Linked DNA regions of Homo sapiens: regions 2, 3 and 4 are each linked to region 1. Evidence: promoter capture Hi-C in human tissues and cell types (Jung and others, 2019). All regions are on one chromosome and are shown on one strand. Each heading gives the region's core, a stretch centred on a gene start or on the middle of the fragment in contact. The rest is flanking DNA. Distances are from core to core; before and after follow the strand shown. Region 1 holds the start of CLTB (clathrin light chain B). Region 2 overlaps EIF4E1B (eukaryotic translation initiation factor 4E family member 1B). Region 3 overlaps SNCB (synuclein beta). Region 4 overlaps CDHR2 (cadherin related family member 2).

Region 1 (4,676 bases), core at 808-3,307:
AGTACAGAGACGTGATCACAGCACACGGCGACCTACCTACACCTCCCGGGCTCAAGCTATGCTCCTGCCTCAGCCTTCCCGAGCAGCTGGAACTACAACTACAGCTACATGCCACCATGCCTGGCTAATTTTTGTATGTTTTGTAGAGATGGGGTTTCACCATGTTGCCCAGGCTCCACAGCATTTGAAAGAGCATGGAGCCCAGAGTTGGGAGGCGTGGGATCAAGTCCTAGATTGGTCATTCCTGGCTGTGTGACTCTGGGCAAGATACTCAGATTCTCTGGGCCACCGGTTTCTTGCATGTTACAAAAGCCTGGTTACATTTCTCATATCAAGGAGATACAGAGTTGCTTCAAACTCCTCAGCCACAGGAACTGTCTTATTCATTTCTGTATCCCCAGCGTCCTGACACACAGTAGGTGCTCAGTAAACGTTGAATGGATACAAACATGACTGTGAAGAGCCTTGTAAACATCATTAACCAAAATATGTCTATATGTATATATGTTAGCACTTACTACAACAGGCCCATAAACCTTTCCAAAATGACATCAACAGGAAGTAAAACCTGTTTTGGATGTACCCATGAAGGTGATATCTACTTTTTTACTAAATATTTTACAAAATCATTCTTGCTAGCCAGAACCAGGGCAGAAACATCATTGATAAAGATGATTTCACAGGGACTAGGCCCTGAACACTGAGGTCTGAAGCCAATCACAGTAAATCATAATAGCCCCGGACCACCTTTGGAAAACCATTAAGTCGACAACTACAAAACCCTGAAGGGCCCTACCGCATCTGACTGATGCCTCTTTGTGGCCCACACTCCGGTGTCTAACTCAGAGCCAGACACTTGGTAGGCAGTGTGGTCAGGTGGAGAGGGCTTCAAGTCCGACAGGAACAGGTTTAAATTCACGGCCAGGTGTGGTGACTCACACCTGTAATCCCAACACTTTAGGAGGCAGAGGTGGGAGGATTGCTTGAGCCCAGGAGCTCAAGACCAGTCTGGGCAACATAGCGAGACCCCATCTCAAAAAAAGGAAAAGAAAAAATATATATGTAAAAGAAAAAGAAACAGGTTTAAATTCTTGATCTGCCACTTACTAGTTATTTCAATAGCATACTCCCTTGAGCCTCAGTTTTACCATCTCTGAAATGGGTTCAATCACGTGTATGAAGTGATTAAATGTAACCAAGGCGCTTAGCCCAGCGACTGCCGAATGCCAGGCGGTCACCGGGGAAGGTTAGTGAGTTCCTGGAGCACCCAGGATCCTCTTTTTTCCCAGCTGCAGGAGAGAGCTAAGCCTGAGGGGCCAGGAGGGCTGTGTTCTGCCCACACCTGCACACTTAGCTGGGAGCCTGGGACACCCAGGCTATTAGGAGGCTCAGGAGGGACTCTCAAAACTGAGGTGGGGTTGGATTCCAGAGCCGGGCAGTGGGGAAGCTGGCCTGGGGATGAAATGTCATGACCGAATTCCTGTCCCGGGAGTCACCAGATCCACAGCCCCAGGCGAGGCCTCATCCCCAGCTCGGAAGTCCTACATGGAGATCTCCAAGAAGATTCTTCCCCACGTCTCCCAGCTCCTGCCCCGGGTGGCCTAGAGCAGGCTCTCTTCCCTGTGCCCCTGGGCCCCGGCCGGGGTCCCCCGGGTGCGCGCCCTGAGCCCCTCTCCAGGCCCCGCGCTGACTCACCCCCACTCGTGGGGCCCGGCTGCGCGGGGGCCGCATGGCTGCCGGCAGGTGCCCCGAAGCCCTCGTCGTTCTCTATGCCTGCAATCTCGCTCTCCTGCTGGGCCAGGAAGGCGGCCGCCGGGTCCTCCTCCGCCGCCTCCGGGGCACCGCTCTCCGACGACGAGAAGAAGCCAAAGTCATCAGCCATTTTCCCCGCGCCTCCGCCGGAGCCTCCGCTGCGCTCGGCTCTGCCCGCGCCTGCCCCGCGCTGCGTCCGGCGGCCGCGACGCTGTCACCCGAGCCGCGGGGGAGCCGGCGTCGGCGGGGACGGGCTTGGCGCGGACCGCACTTCCTCTCCGCCACCGGGCCCGGCTGGCTGTCACTGCGGTGCGGGCGCCGCGGCGGGAGGAGCGGAGCCGGAATGCGGTGACGTCACCGCGGGGGCGGGGCCGCAGGGCCGGGAGGTCGCCGAGCAGCGGCCGCAGGAGGGCGCCTCAGGACTGGGCGCAGCGCTGGGCCCGGGACCGGCGCGGCGCTTCCCTCCCTCCGCAGCGGCGCCCAGCTGCTCGCGTCGAGGACACCTGGGCTAGGCACTGCTCCCGCCCGGCCTGGAGGCGAAACGCAGGGCACAGAGTGGCCGTACCGTGCACAGAGCTGCGACAGGAGGCCACCTCTGGCCTCGGGAGCGCAGACCTGGCTCCTGATTCATTCTGCAGAAGTTTCTTCTCCTAGGTTGGGATGTCATGCACCTCATTCTATGAGCCTCCGCCTCTGTAAGAAGAGGAAAATTGAGGCTGGGAAAGGCTGCCCCGCACCTTTTCATGCAAGTCCAGGTCCTTTCCCACTAGGCCGTGTTGTTTTGTGTATTTTTTTGTGTATCTCCCTTGAGGAGGCTTCAGTTCATACGACCAGAGTTTGGATGGCCAGCTAGGCCCCTTAAATGTCCTTTAGGTATGAACCAGCCTGAGAAAGGCAGACCTGGTTTACCCAGGCAGCCTACCACTCTCCACGCTGCCCGCTGCCCTCTGTGAACAGGCTCTGAATGCCTCCTCCCTGCCTGCGCTTTGCCAAGCACCAGGACAGCAACGTTTTATAAAATCCAGCCATGGCCATGCGGAGATTACAATCCGGTGAGACCAACAGATGGCAAATGGCCTGTCAAAGCACTGTGTGTGAGGCGCTGTGACATTTAAACACGGGGTATAGGGAGACGATGCAAAGAAACACCATGGGATTTGGGCTGTCTGCTATTTCTAATGTGGGACTTGAAAGGCAACTATGAAATATGGACTGGAAGAGCGAAAGGAAAGATGTGCCGCCAAGTTGGGGGTGGAAGTGGAGTTGGGGTGAAGGGACCTTCCAGGTGTTTTTTTTTTTTTCTTTTTAATTTTTTTATTTAGAGACAGGGCCTCGCTATATTAACTGGGCTGGTCTTGAACTGCTGGCCTCAGGGGATCCTCCTGCCTTGGTCTCCCAAAACACTGGGATTACATGTGTGAGCTACCAAGCCCAGCTGGAACTTTCAGTTTAATTGGTAACAACTTGAGCACCTTTTGATGTTACTGTTTTTGGGGGGGTTTTTATTGTTTTATTTAATTAAATTAATGTATTTATTTATTGCTGTCCATTTGCATGGTTTTGTTGTTGTTGTTTGTTTGTTTTTTGTTTTGAGACAGGATCTTACTCTTGCCCAGGCTAGAGTGTAGTGGTACGATTATAGTTCACTACAGCTTCAACTCCTGGGCTCAAGTGATCCTCTCATCCTCAGACTTCCAAAGAGCTGGGATTACAGGCATGAGCCAACACACCTGGCCTTTTTGATGTTATTGTAAGTGGAAGTTTTATCTTCTTTTTTGATTGCGTATTGTTAATGCATAGAAATTTAACTGATTTTTGTGCATTGGCTTTGTATCCTGCTGCTTTGCTGAATTCATTTATTAGCTCTAACATTTTTTGTGTGTGGAATATTTAGGGTTTTCTGCAGATAAGAGCTTATTAGCCAGGTGCCATGGCTCATACCTGTAATCCCAGCACTTTGGGAGGTGGAAGTGGGTGGATAGATTGAGCCCAGGAGTTTGAGACCAGTCTGGACAACGTGGCAAAACCCCATCACTACTAAAACTACAAAAAATTAGCCAGACATGGTGGTATGGTGCCCGTAGTCCCAGTTACTCAGGAGGCCGAGGTGAGGGAATCACCTGAGCCCGGGAAGTCAAGGTTGCAGTGAGCTATGATTGTGTCAGAGGTGTGTGAATCAGAGCAAGTCCGTCGTAAACAGGATCTGGGTAAAATGAGGCTGAAACCTACTGGGCTGCATTCCCAGACGGTTAGGGCATTCTAAATCACAGGATGAGATAGGAGGTCAGCACAAAATACAAGTCATAAAGACCTTGCTGATAACACAGTTTGCAGTGTTGGGCAAGGTGGCCCACGCCTGTAATCCCAGCACTTTGGGAGGCCAAGGTGGGCGGATTGTGAGGTCAGGAGTTTGCGACCAGCCTGGTCAATATAGTGAAACCCCGTCTCTACTAAAAATACAAAAAATTAGCTGGGCATGGTGGCAGGTGCCTGTAATCCCAGCTACTTGGGAGGCTGAGGCAGGAGAATTGCTTGAACCCGGGAGGCGGAGGTTACAGTGAGCCGAGATCTCACCACTGCACTCCAGCCTGGGTGACAGTGCAAGACTCAGTCTCAAAAAACAAACAAACCAACAAACAACAACAACAAAAACCAGGTTGCAGTAAAGGAGCCAGCCAAAACCCACCAAAACCAAAATGGTGACAAGAGTGACCTCTGGTCATCCTCACTCCCACCAGTGCCAGGACAGTTTACAAATGCCATGGCAACATCAGGAAGTTACCCTATACGGTCTAAAAAGGGAAGGCACGAATAATCCACCCCTTGTTTAGCATTTCATCAAGAAATGGCCATGAAAATATGCAACCAGCAGTCCTTGGGGCTGCTCTGTCTATGGAGTAGCCATTCTTCTATTCCTTTACTTT
Region 2 (4,676 bases), core at 2,177-4,676, 230 kb after region 1:
ACAGACAAGAGGTCCCAGGGCTTAGTCCTAGGGCCTTCTGATGCAAAGAGAAGAAACCATCCATTTTGTTCACAGCTGTGCTCCCCAGAGCCTAAAATGGTGTCCGGCACAAAGTAATTGGTAGGTCATTATTTGTTGAATGAATAAACGAATAAGTAGTGTTAAGCGCTAAGAAGGAAATAGAACAGAGTGATGAGTTAGAGGGCATGGGGGAGAGTGTTCTTCTGTAGATAGGGTAGCAGTCAGGGAAGGCCTCTTTGAGAAGGTGACATTTGAGCCAAGCCCAGAAGGACAAGGAGAAGTTCTGTAAAAAGTTGCAGAGGAAACTGCAAGTGCAAAGGCCCTGAGGCAGGAACAAATCTAGCCTTTTGGAGGCTCCATGTGCTCAGGGCATGGGAGGCTGGATCGCCTAAGAACCTTGCAAGCCCAGGACCTGGACTTTGGATCACATCCTGGGTGTCCTGGAGGTTTGTTTGTTTGTTTGTTTGTTTGTTTAAATGCAGTTTCACTCTTGTTGCCCAGGCTGGAGTGCAATGGTGCGATCTCGGCTCACTGCAACCTCTACCTCCCCAATTCAAGTGATTCTCCTGCCTCAGCCTCCCAAGTAGCTGGGATTACAGGTGCCTGCCACCATGCCCAACTAGTTTTGTTGCTGTTGTTGTTTGTTTGTTTGTTTTATTTTTAGTAGAGACACGGTTTTACCATGTTGGCCAGGCTACTCTCGAACTCCTGACCTCAGGTGATCCACTGGCCTCGGCCTCCCAAAGTGCTGGGATTACAGGCATGAGCCACCACAGCTGGCCTGGGTTTTAAACAAAGAAGTTACGTGACCAGATTAATATTTTAAATGATCCCCCCGAGGAACCTGGAGAACTTTCTGTAGGAAAGCAGGAGTGGAAGCAAGTGGAGTGTCAGGAAATACACAGCAGCCAAGGTCAGAACCAGCTTCTCTGGAGTCAGGGGAGTTGGGAGGGAGAGGAATGGGCAGATTCAAGATATTTTAGGAACAGGATGGTAGGGCTGGGATTTAAGAGCCCCTGCTGGTTCAATCCCAGCATGAAGATGTCCCCCATAGACAGACTTGGAAGGGCCTCAGCGAGGGGCCAGGATGCCTGTAGCGCCAGGGGGGTTGCTCTTAAGGTCTCTCCTTAGTCACCTCAATCCAAGACTCCAGGAGCTTCCCCAGGCTGGAAGCTGTGGGAAGTGGTGGGAAGGGGTGCTGTGGCTGGGAGGGTCCTTCCGAGCTGGGCTCTGGGCCACAGCTGTAAGGTAGCTAAGACCATGCCCGGTACTGGGGGGAGCCCTTCCTTCCTTTTTCTTCATCAGATCTAGATTCCTGGCCGGCACAGTGGCTCACACTCGTAATCCCAACACTTTGGGAAGCAAAGGCAGGAGAATCACTTGAACCCTCCCAGGCTGATTTGAGACCAGTCTAGGCCACATATTGAGACCTCATCTCTATTTTTTTTTTAATTGAAAATTAGCCAGACATGGTGGTGTGCACCTGTAGTCCCAGTTTCTCGGGAGGCTGAGGAGGGAGAATGAGCCAAGGAGTTTGAGGCTGCAGTGAGCTATGGTCATGCCACTACACTCCAGCTTGGGCAACAGAGCAAGACACTGTCTCAAAACAACAACAACAAAATCTAGATTCGTGAGCTCTTCCCAGCCTGGTCCTCTTCCAGTGCTCCCTCTGTCCAAATTTCTTCAATGCTCCTCCCACTGAGAGGTGGCAGTATGTCCCCTCCCTTGAATCTGGGCCTGTGACTCTAGTAGAATAGAGTGGGTCTGATGTGGTGCCAGGTTTCAGGCCCAGGCCTTAAGAAACTGGCAGCTTCTGCTTCCTGTCTCTTGGGATGCTTGCTCTGGGAACCCAGCCACCACGCCGGGAAGAAGCCAAGCAGCCACATGGAGAGGCCACGCAGTGCCATCCTGGCCAGCACCCCCAGCTGAGGCTCCAGCTGACAGCTGGCATCAGCTGCCCCACGTGTGAGTGAGCAGATGACTCCAGCCCCAACCTGTAAGCCACCCTAGCTGACCTCCCTTTGAAGGAGAGCTGGGCTGTCCTACTGAGCACTACCCACATTGCACGCTTGTGAGCATAATAAATGATGATTATTGTTTTAAGCCACTGAGTTTGGGGTGGTTTGTTGTGCAGCAATAGATAAGTGGGACACAGTGCTTCACCCCTCCAGGGCCTATCTATCACTAAATATCACTGAGTTTTCCTTCTACATACCCCTTGAGTCTATTATCATCTCTCCATCTTCTCTGCCGCCCCCTCTGTCACCTGGACGACTACATTAGCATCCTAGTCAGTGTTTCCCCACACCTTCTTGCAGCCACAGGGTTCTGTTTCCTACACAGCAATCCAGAGAACCTGCTGAAAAGCATATCTGATTGCCTCCCCAGCCAGTCTGTACATGCTCAAAATGCTCAGTGGCTCCCCACTGCCCCTAGGATCAGGCTTACCCATTTCTTTCCCCTTTTAGCTTCGCCCACACTGGCCTGTCTTCTCGTCCTCTGGTATTCCACATTCCCTTTGCCCCAGGGCATTTGCACATACTGTTCCCACTCCCAGAGATGCCCTCCCCGACCCAGTTAATTATTTCCTATTATTTCTTGTTTATGCTTTAGGTCTTTGCTCAAATACCACCTCTCAGTGACCTTCTTCTCAGTGGTTCTTAAAACGGGGTCCCTGGCCAGCAGCATCTGGGAACTTGTTAGAAATACAAACATCCTGGGCCTGGCGCTTTGGGTCACGCCTGTAATCCCAGCACTTGGGAGGCCAAGGTGGGCAGATTGCTTGAGTCTAGACATTCAAGACCAGCCTGGGCAACATGGCAAAACCCTACCTCTACAAAATAAAACAAAACAAAACAAAACTAGCCGGGCGTGGTGGTGCATGCCTGTAGTCCCAGCTACTCGGGAGGCTGAGGTGGGGGAATCACCTGAGCTGAGACGTCAAGACGGCAGTGAGCCAAGATGGCACCACTGCACTCCCGCCTGGGCAGCTGGAGTGAGACCTTGCCTGAAAACAATATAAATAAATAAATAAAATGGAAACATCCTCAAGCCCAAGCCCAGAACTAAGGCGTCAGAAGTTCTGAGACAGGGCCCAGCAGCGTGTGATGAGCAAGCCGTGCAGGTGATTCTGATACACGCACCTAAGAACTGCCGCTCTGAAGCCCCAGCTTGGATCGTGGACTTTTTAGGTTCTCCCATCCCCGAATCCCTTTCCTTCAGTGGGTTGTGTTTGTGACGACACAGATTGTCTGAGGGATGCATAATCTCATAAACCTGAGCACAGGGCCCGCTTGTTTTTCGCTCATCACCGTAGCAGCACCTAACCCTGTGCCTAGCACGTACCAGGGCTTAAGGCTGTGGGTTGAGCAAATACTCAGCCTCCAGATGGTCACGAGCCCCCCAAGTGTGGGGGAGGAGCAGGGCCTTTTATACGTCTGGGACCCTAAAAGTGCCCAAGGGGAGGAGGCAAAACTTTAAAGGACTTGGGGAGCCTTCAGCCTCCACAGAAAAGGGGTTGTTCAGAAGGCCGATAAAGGGTGTCCAAAGCTTCCCTGCCTTCCTTCCCCATCCCAGTCCCCACCCTCCCCAACCTGGGAGAACCCTCAGCTGACTTCTGTTGAGCACAAGCCAGGCCTTGTTCTACGGGTTCTATGTGTTCTATATCATTTAATACCCTCAACAAGCTTCTGAGTTGTGTATGATTAACATTTTCATTTTACAGATGGGGAAACTGACTCGATGAAGCTCAGGCCTGGCCGCGGTCAGGGTAGAATCAGGACTAGAACCCAGGCTGTGTGGCTGCAGCCCTGACCCTCACCATCCAGGTCAGGCAGAGAACACTCAGGTGGGGCAGGAGGTAAGGTGGGGGCTGTGGGGAGCCTCATGTGTCTCCAAAGGGACTGGGGGCCTGTGAGGCAGTGAGTCGGGGAGGAACTTTCCAAATCCTCAAGAGAAACCAAAAGTGTGAATCTTAGTATAAAACCCCCCTATGTCTAAATGTTGGCAGATGATTAAACTTTTAAAAAACTCAGATGCCACTGGGTATGGTGGCTCATGCCAGTAATCCCAGCACTTTGGGAGGCTGAAATGGGAGATCACTTGAGCCCAGGAGTTGCCTGGGCAACATAGTGAGATTCCTTCATCTCTAGTCAAAAGAATATTTTATTTAAAAACAAACAAACAAAAAAACTCAGGTGCTTCCAGAGACCAGATGAATACCTGCTCTGATGTGAGGTTGGGGATGGTGCCAGAAGGCCCCACGGCCATGTCAGTGTCTCTGCTTCTGCCATCGGCAGGGCCGTCCACCTCACATTCTGGGGTCACCCTCCACGGGATGCAGACCTTGCTTTCCCTTCGAGCAGGCTCCAAATATTGACGCTTACCTTCAGGTCTTGGCCCCCATGGTGTGGGGCTTGGTCACAGCTGCTTCCCCAGCCCCAGGCCTGCACGAAGAAGGCACTCACTAAATGCTTGCTGTTGAGGTAATCAGCCTGGCCTCTCTACCCCCAGTGCACCATGGCCCCGCCCTCTCCCCCCCCCCCCCCGCCCCAGGTGGGCGGGGCAGGTGCTGGTGGGTTAAAAGCTGGTAGCTGGGGGCTTTTCAGATGCTGGGTCCTCCATGGAGTTTGAGCTGGGCATGGCTACTGAAGGCC
Region 3 (4,676 bases), core at 555-3,054, 200 kb after region 1:
CAAGTTTTTCTGCTTTGGGCAGGTGCGCGCGGGGCTTTGTGCGTGTCCACGTTCTGGAGTGGGAGAGGTCTTTCAGCGCTCGAATGGGATGCACGTGTTGGCCAGCGTGCATGCACGCTCGCGCGGCCAGAGTGCGCACACTCGGGTTCGCGCATATGGACCCACGGACAGGCACGCGGGTCCGCACGTGAGTGGGCATCGGCGCGCCTGCGCTACCTGTGCGGCCAGTTGTGAGCCCTTCCGCCCCAACGCTGCGGCGGCATGGGGCTTCCCTAGATCCTGCACTCCCAGCTGGCACTTTAGGGACTAGCAGGAGGCGCCCGAGGCCACCTTCCCGCCTCCCAGCCAACTGCGTGTCCCAGCCCCGGGGGCACCCTCCCCGACCTGCCTTCCGGGGGACAGAGTGGGAGATGGAGACGCGAAGCCAGAGGTGGCCAGTCTTGTACCTGGGCTGTGTGTGCCAGACCCCAAAGAGCACAGAGGGGTAGGCTGGGACCTGGAAGACTCGCCGCCACGTGTCGCCCCCACCCGGCGCCCAGCCCAGCCCTGCCGGTGCGGCTCTGGCTACAGACAGATTAGCTTTATTCATGGACTCTCGGGGGCGGCCGGGCCCACCCGCCCGGGACACGCTCACATGGGGGGGATGGGGACTCTCCATGCCACAATCACAACACACGACGCCCGCGTTCGGACCGGGCCGGCTGGGATGGGGGGCGGGGGACATGGCACAGCCTGGCTCCTGGTTTTGGTTAAAAAAAAAAAGGTTCTCGAGGTTAATGGGAGTCGGGCGGGGTGCTCTGGGGCTGCCCGGGGGCCGCTTGGAGAGCCACTGTCGGGGATCGGGGAGGAGCCGTCGCTCGGATCTTCGTTTAAAAACACATAGAACATGCTACATCCGCGCAGACGCTGGATGGGAGGAGGCAACACTGGAGGGGCGAGGCTCCCAGCCGCGACCGCAACCCTGGCCCTGTCCATGCCCCGGGGTTGGACGCGGGCGGGTAGGACAGACAGATGGACAGACACTAACACAGGCTCCGAGGGGGTTGCCTCAGAGCGGAAGGAAGATCTCGTGATTGGGGAGAAGGAGTCTAAGGACAGCCCTGGCTCTGGGGGGCGGGGCAGGGACAGGGACAGAATTGTGCTGCTGGTGGGGGCTCTCCTGGGCCCCTACGCCTCTGGCTCATACTCCTGATATTCCTCCTGCATCACCGGGATGGGGGTGGAGTAGAGAAGAGCAAAAAGGAGGAGGAGTTTGAGACCAAGTGGCCAAGCCCCGGCCCAAGAACCCTCTCCCTGAAGGAGGAATAGCACATTCCCCTTTTCCTGGGCAGGGGAGGAGCCTGGAAGTTGGGGACAACAGAGAATTCTTGGGCAGGTGTGCCTGGGGCCCAGCGCTAGACCCTATCTGCCCTCTCCTCCCTGCTCCCACCTCCTGGGGCCTGGGTTCTAGAAGAGGGATGTCAAGCTCCCTGGCCCAACCATCTCATGCCAGGGATGTCCCACCCCAGCTAGGGACGGCAGCAATCATCCTGGATTCCCAAAGTCCCGCCCAGCCCTGCTGCCCCCTCACCTGGGGTGGGTCCTCATAACTCTCCCCTTCTGGCTCCATCAGGGGCTCAATCAGTGGTTCTTCAGCAGCTTCCTGGGCCACTTCCTCTGGCTGTGGGCAGAAAAGGTCAGGACTCGTGAGGACAGCCAGGATGCCCCCCAAATTCCCACAGTGGTAAGCTTTGGGTGGGTTGGAGTGGGGAAGGCTAGGGTGGGTTGGCAGAGCAAGGATAATTTCTAATTCAGTTATTTATTTGGAGTGCCTTGGAAGTGGGATGGAGGTGAAGGGGGAAATTCCCCCGAATCACAGTTGAAGTGGCAGCATGGAGTGGGAGCTGGCTCTCCACGCCGCTCCCCCAATGCCTGGCAGCCTCCACACTTCCACCATTTGGATACTCAGTCACCAGCTTATGCCTCATCCTTTGTGTCAGGCTCTGTGCTGGGCATCGGGACCCCAGAGATAACCCTCAGGCTCCCCTGGGCTGAAGGGAGCTGGAGGCTCAGGGACAGGGCTGGGCAGGGGCTCTGAGCCATTCCCCCGCCACCTTCCACTCATCCCTCCCCCGGGCCCTGTGTGGCCTCGTTTCTTCAGCTGTTGCTATTTTAAGATAAGCTGGAAGCCACAGCTCGTGGTGTTGCTTGGATGTGTGAGCTAAGACTCTCCCCCCCACCCGCTGCGTCTGCTGCCCAGACAGGCGCAGACCAGCGGGCATGCATGTGGGCGGGCTGCCAGACACATGGCCAGCCACCTGCAGGTGACCACATGTATGTGAACAAACATGGGACTGAGCTGGCTGCACACACAAGCACACGCGATAGCTTAGGATCCATGCACAGCCTGTGCAGTGCCTCATGTGGGGCTGGCACACGCCTGGGATCCCGGAGCATTGGTGCTGGGGAAAGCCTGCCCTGACCACGTCTGCACCCTGGGTGTCCCAGCTCCATCCAGGCAGCGTCAGCTCCTTCACATTACCTGTCTAAGTGGGCCCTGTGGGCACATGAGTTTCCAGCTCCTGACCTGGCTCATTTCCCCACTGCACAGATGCGTATGCCAAGGCCCAGGAGGTGGGGAAATGTTAGTTTGCCCCCAAGTCACCCAGCTATGACCAGAACCCAGGGATGGAATGTAGTGCTAAAAATGCCAGCTTGATAGCTGGGCACTGTGGTGCGTGCCTCTAGTCCCAGCTACTTGGGAGGCTGAGGCAGGAGAATCGCTTGAACCCGGGAGGCGGAGTTTGCAGTGAGCCAAGATCACGCCACTGCACTCCAGCCTAGGTAACAGAGTGAGACTCCATCTCAACAAAACAAAACAAAACAAAACAAAACAAAACAAGCCAGCTTGAGCACATTGTTTGGAAACAACCCAAATGTCCAACATCAGTAGAATGGATGTGTGCCTTGTGACCTAACGACACAATGGAATACTACATAACAAGAATGAAGAACAACAATGCATACAAGAGCAGGGCTGAGTCTCACAAGCTTCCTGATGAATGGAGGAAGCCAGATACAGAACAGAAGAGCATGGCCTTCATGATGACTTTTTTTTTTTTTTTTTTTTTTTTGAGACAGTCTCACTCTGTGGCCCAGGCTGGTGCGCAGTGGTGTGATCTCGGCTCACCGCAACCTCAGCCTCCTGGGTTCCAGCGATTCTCCTGCCTCAGCTTCCCAAGTAGCTGGGATTACAGGCATGTGCCACTGCATCTGGCTAATTTTTGTATTTTTAGTAGAGATGGGGTTTCGCCATGTTGGTCAGGCTGTTCTCAAACTCCTGACCTCAGGTGATCTGCCCACCTCGGCCTCATGCCTGGGATTACAGGCATGAGCCACTGTGCCCAGCCTCATGATAACATTTACAAGAAGTCAAAAAACACCCAACTAGTGTTGTGCTGATAGAAGCCAGGAAGCAAGGCCAGGCATAGTGGCTCACGCCCGTTACCACTCCCAGCATTTTGGGAGGTCAAGGTGGGCAGATCACTTGAGGTCAGGAGTTTGAGACTAGCCTGGCCAACATGGTGAAACCCATCTCTACTAAATATACAAAAATTAGCTGGGCATGGTGGTGCACGCCTGTAGTCTCAGTTACTCAGGAGGCTGAGGCAAGAGCATTGCTTGAACCCAGGAGGTGAAGGTTTCAGTGAGCTGAGATTGTGGCACTGCACTCCAGCCTGGGCAACAGGGCGAGACTCCGTCTAAAAAAAAAGTCAGAAAGCAGTTCCCCTTGGAGGGCGATAGGCAGGGCCAGGACTGAGGGGAGGTGGGTGAGGCTCCTGGAGTGTAGATGTTAGGGAGGCCTGGCCTCCGTCTCCTGGCCATGCAAGTGAGACTCCATGAGTGAGTGCCCCAGACACCTCTTTTGTCTCCCCCTAGTCCTGGCCCTGGGGATAGGAACTGGAAGGGGTCACAAGGTGGGGTCCTGGGGGGTAGTGTTCTGTCTCGAGCTGGCTACTGGTTACAAGGGGAGTTCCCTTTGTGAACATTTCATGGAGCTGCCAGTTTTCCACATGTACATTGTACTTCAATAAAAAGTTCACTTAAAAAAATACCCATAGCCTGTAATCCCAGATACTTGGAGGGCTGAGGCAGGAGGATTGCTTGAGCCCAGGAGTTCCAGATCAGCCTGGGCAACATAGCAGGACCCCATCTCAGAAAACAAACAAACAACCCCAGCCTGGCCACCTGGTAGCTACCTGGCATCAGGCAAGTCATTTTGCTTCTAATCTCAGCAGCCTTGCATGGGAAACGAGGCTGGTGAGGATTCCGTGATGATGGATGGAAAGCATGCTCGAAGCAGAGAGTCTCAGAAATGCAGACCATGGGCCTGCATGAGTCCCCCATGCCGCTGGTGGCCCAAGGGGCTGTTGTCTGTGTTATAACTCTATGATCTTGGGCTCCCTTGGGAGGGTAGCCTTGAGGCGTCAACAAGCACCAGTAGGAGAAAGGTGACCAGAGAGAAATGGTTCTGTGCAAACACCCATCACAGCCTGGGGCTGACAGGCTGAACCTGCCTCTCTTTTGCACCCCAGCTCGCAGCACTAGGACTGGCCCTGTGCCATCACCAAGCGACCCCAGTGACATGGCCTGAGCTTATCCTCCTGACCACCTTATAAGGGAGGCAGGCAGGAAAT
Region 4 (4,676 bases), core at 2,154-4,653, 180 kb after region 1:
GTGCAACATTCTAGCATTTTAAAGACCAAGAGTTCTGATTCTGATGGCCCACGTGGAGCCTGGGCATGGACCTGTTGTAAAAGCCGCTCAGGGGGTGCTAAGGTGCAGGCACGGTGGACACCGCTGGAGCGGGTCAGCAGGCTGAGTGTGGGGTGGGTCCTGGACATGGAGGGGTGGCTCTCTGGAAACAGAAGGAACTGCCCTCTCTCCTTCCCACTTTGAAAGCCACCTCTGGAGGAGACGCTTAAGGCCCATTGGAGCTGTGATAGGCTGAGGTTCTGTGTGTGGTGCTGCGGGGGATCCACCCACATTTTCCCCCAGTCTGGGTTCTGGGCTTGGCTGGGTCCCAGGCCACTAGGGGCTCCCAACCTGACTTCATGGTTCAGAATTTGTTTTCCCTGAGGACTCCTTACATGGAAAGATTTGGTCAACCGAAGCCTCTCTTGGTCTTTAAAATGGTAGAATGTCGCACAGGGGCCCAGGTATAACACGGTACAGGGAATCTGGCACAGAGGCCTCCGGACAGGCCCCAGGTATGGTTGTGTGGGTGGTAATGCAGGCAGCCAGGCAGCGCTGGAGGCCTCTGGGTAGATGCTAGGAGATGGTTAGTGGCCAAAACTCTAATGAACATGTCTGGGGAACTGAGGCGAAGGAACAGTCTTGTCTACTGGAGTGCATGGCCTGTGGCAGAGGCTGATGCTGCTCCTAACCCAAGGGAGTGGAGTTAAGGACCCCCTGAGGTGTGGCTGGATCTGTGGACTGGGAAGGGGCAGGGAAGTAGGAGAAGGGTCTGGAGAGGGTGTGGGGACAAGTCACGGAAAGTCTTCAAAGCCAGAAAATTGCTCAGATTATGTCCTGGGAGGGCAGGGGGTTGCTATATTTCTGAGAAGCTGCCCAAGGCTCCACCCTGTCTCCTGCAGCAGTGAGTCTTGCGGGTCTCTGGGCAGGTCCACGAGGCATGGGGCCTTTTTGGGAGCTGTCTGCCCCCTGCTCTCCCATGGCTGGGGTGGCGCAGGTGGATCCTTTTCCCAGGAATCTCTTGGTGCCCTGACTTGTCTAAGCTCCACACGTCTGTGTGGTAGGTGTGAGTGGCTGGAGAGATTATCACTCTAACCTCCCCAAGTAACCAGCAAGGAAATTCACATCCAGAGAGGGGTGCTGACTTGCTCAAAGTGGGACAGCTTGCAGGGCAGGGGCAGACCAGAACCCAGGTCTTTGGTCTCTGGCACCAGGTCATGTTATCGTGGGTGGCACTGAGCCTGCAGCTCTCCACTTGGGGTCTGTCTTGAGGGCTCTGAGGAACACAGGCAGAATGCTTAGCCCCTCTGGGGCCCCTCGGATGTTCCACTGTTTACTAGGGACCAGAACAGCCCCAGTCTGGAAAAAGCCCTTGGAGTGCCCTGGGGAGGGCGGTGGTGGCCGGGGCTCTGGCCCTGTGGGTGTCTCTGTAGCAGAGCAGCTGAGCTTGGGGGCCTGGCTGTTCCACAGGAGGGTGTGTGTGTGTGTGCACGCACACAGCATGTCGCATGGCGAGGTGGAAGAGGAAGGGCGGGAGAGATGAGTGAGTGTGTGCCATGATAAACTGCAGGTGGGACCAGCCTGTGGGCAGCGTCCCTCTGAGGGCAGCAAAAAGAGACGTCAAATTCAACCAGGGCAGTGTCACATCATGGACACGCTTTTGAACCAGCAAGACCAGTGGTCTGCCCCTCTTCACCAGTAGACCTCTCTAAGCCTCAGTTTCCACATCTGTGAAGAGAGGACATGTTCCCTCCCTCAGAGGGTTTCAGTGGGTAGTTGAGGTAATGGATGGACCTCAACCCACACGGTGCCTGCCGTGGGGTACAGGGGGCAGGAACTGCGCTGGGCTGGCTCCTCGGCACAGGACACAGGGCCTGGCATTATTTGGAACTGGGCTGAACGGCAGAGTGCCGCAGTGTTGGTGGGCAGGGCAAAGGCAAGAGTGAATCCCCCAGGCCACACCCTCCCCCTCCCCTAATCTGCATCACCATTAGCCAGGGCCACCTCTGGGACACAGCCTGGACCAGAGGCCCCAGGAGGGGCAGGGTGGGACCCCTGCCAAGGAACCACTGGTCGTGAGCTTGAAGCCCATCCACTCCCCTAGGGCCTGGGGCACTCGCCCCACCTTGCCTTGCCCTTCACACCTCCTCTCCCTCTCCCTGCAGGAGCACAGGCCACCACACACACCACCAGAGCCAGATCCAGAGCCCCTGAGCGTGGTCCTGTTAGGACGGCAGGCAGGCGCAAGTGGACAGCTGGAGGGGCCATCCTACACCAACGCTGGCCTGGACACCACGGACCTGTGACAGGGGCCCCCACTCTTCTGGACCCCTTGAAGAGGCCCTACCACACCCTAACTGCACCTGTCTCCCTGGAGATGAAAATATATGACGCTGCCCTGCCTCCTGCTTTTGGCCAATCACGGCAGACAGGGGTTGGGGAAATATTTTATTACCAATGTATACTGTGACAGTTTGTAGCCAAAAACTGCGGCTGGAGGGGTGGGGACGGGACACTGAGTGGTCACAAGGGACTTGGGCTCACAGCACAGGGGGGACAAGGGGCTGGAGAGGGTGGCCTTTAAAAGACAACTGTGGTTATAGAATGAGCTCTCTGTCCTGTCCCCAATACCCAAGAACACCGGTCACCCAGGATGCCAGGGCCCAAGAGCTTCTGTGAGCCCAGCTGTGACCTCCAGACCTTCCTGAGACCCTCTGGCCTTTCTGTGACTCTCTCTCAGCTGAGCCCCCAGGGTACTTCCTGTAGCTGTCTTTGGCCTCTCTGGGAATCTCAAACCTGTGACTCAGTGGGAGAGGGGATGGGGCTGGAACCAGGCGGGTGGGAGATAGGAACTGGGGAAGGACCACCAACAGCATGCAAGAGACGCCCCGGCCACGGGGCCAGCCACTGCGTGGAGACGCTCACACTCGTTCTACCTCACGTGCTGCCCGAGACCTCACATTCAGAGACGTGCCCACTCGCGGGTCTCACACACCGATCCTCACCCACTTGAAGCTTCTGCCACTCAGACTTGTATGCAGTCTCTCCCTGTTCTGGGGATCTGGCCCCACCGGAGACCACAACGCACCAGTCTAGACATCTCAGGAGCCTGCCCCAGCTCTCAGGGGGTGGGAGGTGAGGGTGCTGAGCAGGCCCCCGTGGTCGCCCAGTGTGACCGGGAGTAGAGCTGAGGGCTGTGAGGGGACAGTGGGGCGTCAGGGCTGGCCGGGTTCGTGGCCTCGTGGCCACGAGGGAGCTTGGTAGAAGGGGTTCTTCTGTATTTGTGATGGGAGGGGCTGGAAAGACGGGGACGCAACAGCCCTAGAGGCTGCACAACCCCTCGGAGGCCTGTGGCACGCAGAGGGGACCCCTTCTAGGGGCCTGTGATCAAGAAGGGAGCCTGAGAAGGTCGGAAACTCGGGCGTACAAAATGGGGGCAGATCACTCGGCCGTGGGTCCCGCCCGCGAGCAGCACCGCGGCCGGCGCACACTCTGCAGCAGCGCGCGGAACAGGCCGGGCGGACGCTTGGCGGCGCCATCTGGGGGCGCGGTGCGCACCGAGCCCGAACGGCCGGGGCCGGCACGGGCGGCGGGCGGCGGCGCGGGCGCCCCTTGGCGGCCGTGCTCCTCGATCTGTCGCTCCAGATGCTTCTGGATGGCCATGCCCAGCACCTCCACCTCCATGGCGGCGCCGTATACCTCCCACGTCATGCCCTTCTCGTCCCAGCTCACGTCTCGCACGGGCTCAGCCGGCTCCGGGGGCGCTACAGCGGCCGCCAGCGCTGAGCCGGGCCGCACCCGCACTTCGGGGAAGGCGGGCGGCGCGGCGGCTTGAGGTGTCATGGGCCCAGTGGCCACGGAGCGCGTCTCGGCGGCGCCCAGCGACACCTGCAGGCCCGCATCTCGGCGCGAGGGCGGGCTGGGCGCGCGCGGCGCCGCCTGGAAGCTGAAGGCCGAGCCCCCAGCGCCGTCCTGCGGAGACATGGGGCTCACGGCCACTGAGACGCAGGCCTGCGCGCCCGCCTGAGTGCCCGCGTCCTCGCGCGGCGGCGGCGGGGCGCTCGCCTCCCACGACGGCGCCTTGGTGAAGTTGTCGCGAGTCCGCGGCCCCGGCGGGGGCGCTGCGGCCTCTGGGCAGGGGCTTCTCTCGGCCCCAGCGGCTTCCAGGTCTTTCTGGCCGAGACTGGAGGCCTCGGTGCTGGACACGGGCTCGGCCTTCGGCTCCACGCGGCCTTCACTGCCCCTGGCACCCTCGGGAGACCGGGCTGAGCCGAGGGCTTTGCGGTCTAACTGCCTGGAGGAGGAGGACGGCTTGGTCTTCTCCAGACTCAGGGGGACCACCTTCCCCAAGGATGGGGACTCCGTTTTTCTGGAAGGTGCAGAGTCGGCTTTCCCCAGGGACACAGGCTCTCCCTTCCCTGAGGCAAGGGGCTCTGCTTTTCTGCAGGATCCAGGATCCACCTTCTCTGAGGCCTGTGGTGTCTCCTTTTTCAAACACACAGCCCCTGCTTCCCCTGGTGCTGCAGCGCCCTCTTGCCCAGGGAGCTTTGTTTCTGCTTTGCCACCAGACTGCGGCTGTGCTTTCCCCGAGGCCCTGGGATCCGCCTTTGTGGTGGTAACAGGACTCCCCTTCTCTAGAGGCAGAGAACCCACTTTTC

Evidence for each region. The method cuts DNA at HindIII sites, captures the fragments that hold promoters and counts their contacts. A contact is called where the count stands out against the background at its distance.
Region 2: a contact is called between a fragment that was not itself captured here and the fragment with the promoter of CLTB in region 1, in 1 of the 25 tissues and cell types used here (liver).
Region 3: a contact is called between a fragment that was not itself captured here and the fragment with the promoter of CLTB in region 1, in 1 of the 25 tissues and cell types used here (dorsolateral prefrontal cortex).
Region 4: a fragment that was not itself captured here is called in contact with the fragment with the promoter of CLTB in region 1 in 1 of the 25 tissues and cell types used here (spleen).

What each region holds. Positions count from the first base shown.
Region 1 is chr5:176,414,482-176,419,157 of GRCh38, forward strand. It overlaps CLTB (clathrin light chain B), which reads right to left and starts at 2,058. Exons shown (of 6, transcript NM_007097.5): 1 at 1,696-2,058. The coding sequence starts at 1,882. It also overlaps a transcript of ARL10 not described here. RefSeq lists silencers at 1,561-1,640, 1,751-1,850, 1,891-2,350. The HindIII fragment of the contact is 14,544 bases long and covers 1-4,676 here.
Region 2 is chr5:176,638,298-176,642,973 of GRCh38, forward strand. EIF4E1B (eukaryotic translation initiation factor 4E family member 1B) reads left to right here. Exons shown (of 9, transcript NM_001099408.2): 2 at 3,746-3,868; 3 at 4,413-4,505. The coding sequence starts at 4,491. Among named protein-coding and RNA genes, the nearest start is that of TSPAN17, 6.8 kb to the right of the region's middle. The HindIII fragment of the contact is 5,153 bases long and covers 851-4,676 here.
Region 3 is chr5:176,619,644-176,624,319 of GRCh38, forward strand. It overlaps SNCB (synuclein beta), which reads right to left. Exons shown (of 6, transcript NM_003085.5): 5 at 1,571-1,660; 6 at 439-1,200. The coding sequence ends at 1,168. Among named protein-coding and RNA genes, the nearest start is that of MIR4281, 7.5 kb to the right of the region's middle. The HindIII fragment of the contact is 5,194 bases long and covers 1-4,401 here.
Region 4 is chr5:176,593,349-176,598,024 of GRCh38, forward strand. It overlaps CDHR2 (cadherin related family member 2), which reads left to right. Exons shown (of 32, transcript NM_017675.6): 32 at 2,184-2,476. The coding sequence ends at 2,324. It overlaps GPRIN1 (G protein regulated inducer of neurite outgrowth 1), which reads right to left. Exons shown (of 2, transcript NM_052899.3): 2 at 2,454-4,676. The coding sequence ends at 3,460. Among named protein-coding and RNA genes, the nearest start is that of GPRIN1, 14 kb to the right of the region's middle. RefSeq lists silencers at 3,527-3,686, 3,827-3,916. The HindIII fragment of the contact is 5,900 bases long and covers 454-4,676 here.